Regions from separate parts of the Homo sapiens genome. Here region 1 is linked to region 2. Evidence: promoter capture Hi-C in human tissues and cell types (Jung and others, 2019). All regions are on one chromosome and are shown on one strand. Each heading gives the region's core, a stretch centred on a gene start or on the middle of the fragment in contact. The rest is flanking DNA. Distances are from core to core; before and after follow the strand shown. Region 1 overlaps GABRB1 (gamma-aminobutyric acid type A receptor subunit beta1). Region 2 holds the start of COMMD8 (COMM domain containing 8).

Region 1 (3,767 bases), core at 405-2,904, 330 kb after region 2:
GTAGTTTGAATGTTCCAGGCTGTGCTCAAGGTGCTAGAGAATATACATTTTAACAAAACAGATACATTTAATGCTTTTGTAAAGGTTACTTTCTTTTGCAAGAGATATTGAACAAATTAAAACATAAAAACATAATATGCTGTATATCCTGAAGAAAATTAAGACATAGTAGAATAGATACAGAGTGATGGGTTTCAAAAAAAGAAAAGAGACAGTTTTGTTTAGCTAAAGTGTTTCAGGGATACCTCTTTGGTAGAGTAGCATTTGAGCAGGGATTTAAACAAAATGAGGAAAGACATGAAGATATTAAAGGGAAGTATGCTGTAAGCAGAGGAAGCAGAAATGCAAGGCAAGATGGGATGTGTTCTGAAGGATTTCTAGATATGTCTCATGATTGCACTGGAGACTCTCTGGGTCTGGCAGGCACACTGTTTTACTATTTAGCAGTAGGGCTCTCTGAACACGTTCTAGATTGTGGCTATTCACTTCCAGCTTCATCAAATACCCATCTATTTTCCTTCGTTCAAGAAATTCGTTGAGCGTTTCCAGTATTTGTTGAGTATTTCCAGTTGAGTATTCCACACTTGGTCCTTTTTTTCATTGCAATACAATTGTACCTTATAAAAAGTTCATTTTAACTGACTGTTCAGGAGTAGAGAACATAAATGAGTGGACTCAGGTGCCATCTTGAACTAAAAACAAAAGGAAAAACAAATCCTATCCTCTAAAAATATCTCTTAAAGCTTTTTTAAAGTGATGCAATCCAAACCAAACCAAACCAAACCAAACCAAACCAAACCAAACCAAACCAAACCAAAACAAACCAAAACAAACAAACGAAAAAACGTCTTCACAGAGATGGTAAACAAGCCCAAGGGCATTGGAGAGTTTTAACAGTAATTCTAAGATGAGAATATTTGTTATTATGGTATCTCTCACATCAATAGAAAAATAATAAGAAAGTTAGCATACAACATAAACAGTGATTGATATTTTCAACAAGAAAATGAAAACAAAACTGTAAAAAAAGAGAGAGAAATTCAATCTGAATGACGCTTTCTAGTGAAATGAGCCCAATGCAGTGTGTTAGGAATAGATTTTTATTCTTCTTCAATACCCCTGCATTTAAATATCCAATAAATAAATGATTTCATAAATCACAGCAAATAAAACTGTTTAAAAAAACATGAAAATTCATTAAACTACCTTTCTTTCTGAGGCAGTAGTCAACAGATTGTCAAATTAAATTTCAAATTGAAATTATAAAGGAAAAAATACATTAATATCAAATTCTGATTCTAGGAGCTATGAAAAAAAAATTATATTGCTCTACTGGATAAATTAGTAATGGTTCTCAGATATTTTACTTGTCAATTAGAAAGAAACAAAGTTCTTAAATCATTTCTGATCATCATCCTAATCTAAATGTTCAGTAATTTGCACAAATTCATGCAGAATTGGTAGCAGAATAGAAATATAAACTGGGCCCTAATACCCCAGGTATTGGTTCTTTTACCATATCGTAACATTGCATCATTCAATTTGAAATCATTGAATATTTTCTGCATTCAAAGTCTGGCCAATATGCCCACTGCCTCCCTAGCATTGCAGAAAGAGACAATGATATTAAGTAGGTGCAAAAAAAAATTGCAGTTTTGGCCATTATTTTAAACAGCAAAAACAACAATTACTTTTGCACCAACCTAATACAATCTACAGCAATGGCTACATTGCACTCAGAAAAACAAGACTCGGCCTGGTGCGGTGGCTCACACCGGTAATCCCAGCACTTTGGGAGGCCGAGGCGGGCAGATCATCTGAGGTCAGGAGTTCGAGACCAGCCTGCCAACATGGCGAAACCCCATCTCCACTAAAAATACAAAAATTAGCCAGGTATGGTGGCACGTGCCTGTAATCCCAGATACTCGAGAGGCTGAAGCAGGAGAATCGCTTGAATTTGGAGGCAGAGGTTGCAGTGAACCGAGATTGCGCCACTGCACTCCAGCCTGGACTACAGAGCAAGCTTCTGTTAAAAAAAAAAAAAATTCTCCAGAAGAAGAAAGTTTGGACTTAAGCATTCATAGAATGGCCTCTTCAGTTTTCTTCCAGGGCTGGGTAGGAACAATATAATCTTTTTGTGAATGTAAGCACACAGAGGCTTTAAATCAAGGCAGTGTGTTATATTTAGAGATGGTTTTGCAAACCCATAAACAAAACTTCAGCTTTAGTTTTATGCCACTTGTCAGTTTGATGACTGGTTGAACTTCAGTAGACTTGTGCTTTTTAAGCTCACCTAATGGACATTAATAACTTTCTTTGTAACCAGCTTTCTTGATATAGCACTTAATCCCTTGAAGGACAAATGTTTATTGAGCTATTACTATATGTGAAGCACTGTACTGAGAGCTGGAAATATAATAATAAATAAAACATCATACAGTCCCTATCCTTTTGGTGCTTGGAGGTTATGAGATCCCTGCTCTCATGATCCCTGCGACCTACTGCAGGAACAGACATGACTAATCTAATAATTACACAATTAAATATAAAATTACAAATGTAATAAGGGTCATGAAAGAGAGGTACTATTCCTCTGTAAAAGTGTATAAGAAGAGCATTTGACCATTCCTAATCTGGGGGGAGGCAAATGGTCAGGAGGTTCTCAAAAATAAGGGATATTTGAGAAGAGCCAGAATAAATACAGCAAAAGAGGGAAGTGGGCTCCAGACTGAAAGGACAACTTGTGCAAAGGCTGGGTTGGAGAAGGAACTGTATTTTCCAGGAGCTGAATTTTCCAGGAACATTGTATTTTCTTAAACTGGAAAAGAAAGCACACACACACACACACACACACACACACACACACACACACACACACACACACAGTATCTGGAGCCCAGACATTATGGGGGAATGTGCAGTGGTATGGGGCTGTGGAGGTGGGCAGGGGCCAGCCCAATCAAGACTGCTTAAATCTTGTGGTCTTTATCCTGAAGGAAGTGGGAAGACAGTGAAAGATTTAAGCAGGAGAGTGACATGATCAAGCTTACATTTTGGAAATAAAACACTTGGTATCAGAGAGAAAATGTGGGGGAGCAAATGCTATGGAGACAGTTAGTACATTATTGCCAGAAATAATCATCCACGCAATGGAGGAGAGGGCATGTGATTCCCTGGGAAATTTGTTAGCAGACTTTTCAACATATACTTTGCGAAAATTGAATGTTTTAAAAATAAAACACAATGTTTTACACTTGAAAAGTAAAGGCAGATTATATCTATTTATTCATCTACATAGTCACACATGTGCTTATCCACCTTTTTGTTCTGTTTTGCTTTTCTTCTCTACTGACATACTTTCCATTCCTGAAAGGGTGATTCTCTCTTTTTTCTTCCCTGGGTTCTTTGAACACTTGATGCATCCTCTCATGAGAAACGCTCTTCCTAGTCTTCTTTCCACTCGGCCCAACCAATGTCTAATCTACTTTGTTCTTGGTTTAAGTATTTCTTTTTCCAGGAAGCCTTCACTGATTTCTAAAATCCATGATAGCTATCATGATGGTGACTCCCATTGCAACACATAGTTTATGGCCATTAATTAACTATTTACAATTGCTCATATAATTATTTGTTTATGTTAGTCAACTGTAAGTGCTTTGAAGGCAGGAACTGTGTCTATCACATCACCATTTCTTATTAGGTAACTACAGTGCCTGGCACATCATAGGAACTGAAAATATATTTGCCAATGATGAATACATTAAAAT
Region 2 (3,917 bases), core at 522-3,021:
CCTCTTACTAATCAAAGGGCAAATATTAAGCGCTGTCTCTCTTGCAAGTTGTTAACTATTTTGGAAACCATATTTGTTGCAGGCTAAATTTTGTCCCATCCAAATTCAAGAGTAAAGATCAAATTCTTCTTAGTACTCAGTGTTGCTTGAAAGATGAGTTAGGACCTAATTCTCTGTCCTCTGACTAAACCTTGGGCCCTGTTAGGTGTGTCATTTTACCTTATTTAGTCATGTTACGTGGCCTTAGGTAAGCCATATCATTTCAGTTCCTCAGCAGGGGTAGTCAAGCATGCAAACTGAGATCACCGTTTCTGGCCTCAGACCAGTGATTTTGTAACTACTATCTATGTGACCTTACAAAATATATTACTTCAAGTTCATTTCCTCATCTGTAATACCCACTGTACAAGGCTGTAGCAGGAATTAGTAAGATAAAAATATATGAAGGGTTTGACATATAGTAGATGCTTGAAAGTACTTTTCTCCCAATTATTATAATACATAAAATTTAAGTTTTTTTCTCAAAATAGACCTTACCCATCATTAGATTTACAGAAAGACTCAGGTGAAGTAGTTTTCCAGACTTCTCATTTTAACTATTACTAGGGGAGCTCCTATTCACAAAGTATCTTAAGACAATTACATTTAAGATAGGGCAATGAGTGTTGTGCATCTATCTGCATTAAGAACTAGAAAGTGGTAAATAAGTGAGGGACAGCTAAAATATCATGAAAACTCACGGGAGAAAGAAATTGACTTCACCTTTTAGAGTTGAGGCACACAGAGAAAGGACGTAGGAGGTAAACCTAGAATGCTGCTAATGAGTAGTTTTTCTCTGCGTAGCCCATAGATTGAATACTTTCTCTTCTGCTTCACCATTTTGCACCACTTTTATTATTAAATTTATAAATTAGATTGTAATTCCTGTTTCTGGTCTACTAGTTATTATTATCCGCTTTTGCAGGACATGCTCATTTTACCACCACTGAATTCTTCAGCACCTGATTAAAGTAACAGCTGTAATAAGAAATAACAGAAAGGATATTTGGACTTTGAGCTTAGTCCAACATTAATAGCATGGCTCTTGAGTCTGATTGATTTTGTTTAACTTCAGACTGGGCCTCTTACTTAGGTCAGTGATTTTTAGCGTTGCCAGATAAAATACAGGACACCAGTTAAATTTGAATTTCAGATGGACAAATAATTTTCAGTATAAATATATCCCATACAATATTTAGGGGATACTTACAACAAAATATTATTGTTTATCTGAAATTTCACATTTAACTGGACGCTTGGTATTTTCATTTGCTAAATCTGACAACCTTAGTGACTTCTCTAATCATGTTTGCTTTCTGCAAATAGGGCTGAAAATAGTACCTTCTCCCTAGGATGATCTATATACAGAACGTTGCTCATGGCAAAACCTTAATTTACCTTGCAAATCAGGATACTTTAGTAGAGACTTCTGTTAAAACTCTGGGACAATGACCATGCCCAGGCACCCAAAAAGATGGTTACCTTTATTCGACGGTTTTCTAAAGAGCACAGAGAAAGTTCAATAGAACCCTAAACAAAGGTACAAACTGCGTTGAAAGATACGTAAATGTGCCTTTAATAGCACAAGGGTATCTTAGCCACATCACTGCAAACTGCAGTCTCCCTGGTTACGGGGAAAGCGGTAGTTCGGTCTCTGCGCAAGCGCACAGGGACTTCTTGGGTCCACGCCCCTCCCCGCCGGCGAGAGTCACGTGGGCGAGTCGTAGCTTTAGACAAGCGGCCAGCCTTGACACGTGACCCAAGCCCCAGCTTCGCGCAGGGATGGAGCCGGAAGAGGGGACGCCCTTGTGGCGGCTGCAGAAGCTGCCGGCCGAGCTGGGCCCGCAGGTGAGGGCGGGTACCGGGGGAAGCGGCGCGGGGCCTGGGATTCGCGACAGCCCGGCGTGCGGATCAGGCCGGGTGCGACCCGGACGCCTTCGCAAGCTCCCTAGGGAAGGGAGGAGGAAGGGGCGTGATTTCGGGTGGTTGGTCCCCGCCTTCCCTGGGGAGCCTAGGAGGACAGCTTGGGGCGCCACCCCCAGCCTAGAGGTGCAGCTCCAGGGGCTTTGCGCGCAGAAGCGCCCACACCAGACTGGGCTTTGAAAGCTTAAGTCGGTGTTTGCTGCCTCTTAGTATACGTTTTCTTAATTCATTCAACACATAACCTCCCAAAGGCTCCCTACCTACCGGACAGCAGGTACAGAGCTAGGTGCTGGAATACAATGTGACAAAGACCGAAGCGGACCCTGCCTCCCCCCTTGAGGGTGGTTGGTAGGAAGAGAAATAACTGGGCGAGTTACTTTAGTTAGGATCGTCCCAAGAGGTGATGTACCCATTGACTTCCAGTCTGTAAAAGAACCTGGCTTGTAAGAATCTGGAAAAAGCAACCACATTCATTTGTTCAGCCAGTTTTTCATTGAAGTCTACCATAGATTGAGCGCCCCGATGGGATGAGGTAAATGGTGAGTGAGACACAGCCTGTGCCCTGGTGGAGCATCTTTTTTATAAGTCTCAATTTTGGCTTCCTGTTTCCTCTATTCCATTTATACTGGAGAAAGTGTGGAGGAGACAGAAAGGAATGAACTTACCTCCTGCCAGGGTCAAGAAAAAAAAACACCTAATTCTTTTCTTTGTTTTTGCAAGTGAGGAACCTGAAATGTCAGCAGAAATTTTGGCTAACTTGCCCAGGATTGCCCATCCAGTTAGTGGCAGAGCTGGAACTTATGCTCAGATCTGTTGATTCTGAGTGTTTTATTGGCTTTTGGCTCTCCTTGTCTTCACTCTACCCATTTAGATAAGGCCCATAACCTTTATTACCATATATGTCGATGACTTCTAAATCTTTAGGTCCAGCCAAAAATTTCTTCCTCTATGGTTCAAGAATGCCAGGTAAAAAACAAAACAAAACCCCAAAAACCCCAAACCAAAATCTCTTCCCTGAGTGTCAGGCTTCTGCCACAGGTACCTCAAATTCAGTATGCCCTTGCCTCAGCTCTTCTTTCCCCCTGGACCTACTCCTCCCGTAGCCTCATTTTCGGTTTGTGGCACCACCACTTTCACCCAGCCCCTCTCAACCTGACGTTCTAGGTTTCATCCATGGCCCCCCCTTTTCACATCTCTTCTACCTCTTTACTGCCTCCATTTTGAGTGTCCTCAACAATTTAAGCCCCTTAATCTTTAACTCCTTAACTGAAAATTGAGGCATCTGGGCTCACCCTCTCTCTTACATCTTCCAACCTGTTAGCAAATATATGGAAAAATAATGCAAATGTGTGAATAGGTTGCTTCCCGGTTGAGCACAGATTGAAGTCTAGGCTCTTTTACTTTGTACACAAGGCCCTTTTTGATTTGGCTCCACCCACCTCTCCAGCCTTGTCTCCTGTCACCCCCTAGGCACCCCCCAAAATAACTTGCTTGTGTCTAGAAATGCACTTCTTCTCTCCTGTTTTGCTTGGCCAACTACTCATCCTTTTAAGATGGACTTTTCCTTGCTTCCTCTCTGTGCTCCTTCGTACCTTGTATATATTTTTATTATGGCCCCATCATTCTAAATTACATGTATTTGTATGTTTGCCTTTTTCGAATGGACTAAAGCTCTGTTATGGTAGGGCCTTATTTATTCTCAGTTTCCTCATTTGTAAAATAGAAATAATAACAATGGTTACTTCAGAGTTGTAGTGAGGATCAGTCCAGAGTGTGGTACCTAGTTAGGGATCCATAACGGTAGCTATTATAGTTTCTTTGCCATTAAATAAAGTCATTTCCATGACCTTTGTCATTAAATAAGGTCATTTCCATGACTTTATTTAATAACTGGGATGAAGTGTTCATTACATATTTGTGAATGAATAACAAACATATTCCAAAAAAGATAATGC

The links. Contacts are between HindIII fragments. The study calls those that stand out against the background at their distance.
Region 1: a contact is called between a fragment that was not itself captured here and the fragment with the promoter of COMMD8 in region 2, in 1 of the 25 tissues and cell types used here (thymus).

Annotation. Positions count from the first base shown.
Region 1 is chr4:47,129,444-47,133,210 of GRCh38, reverse strand. All of the region lies in intron 3 of GABRB1 (gamma-aminobutyric acid type A receptor subunit beta1), which reads right to left. Among named protein-coding and RNA genes, the nearest start is that of GABRB1, 100 kb to the right of the region's middle. The HindIII fragment of the contact is 4,621 bases long and covers 1-3,767 here.
Region 2 is chr4:47,461,556-47,465,472 of GRCh38, reverse strand. It overlaps COMMD8 (COMM domain containing 8), which reads left to right and starts at 1,771. Exons shown (of 5, transcript NM_017845.5): 1 at 1,771-1,887. The coding sequence starts at 1,822. It overlaps LOC107986277 (a long non-coding RNA gene), which reads right to left and starts at 1,590. Exons shown (of 3, transcript XR_001741683.3): 1 at 1,522-1,590. RefSeq lists an enhancer at 83-132 and a silencer at 1,781-2,040. The HindIII fragment of the contact is 7,884 bases long and covers 1-3,486 here.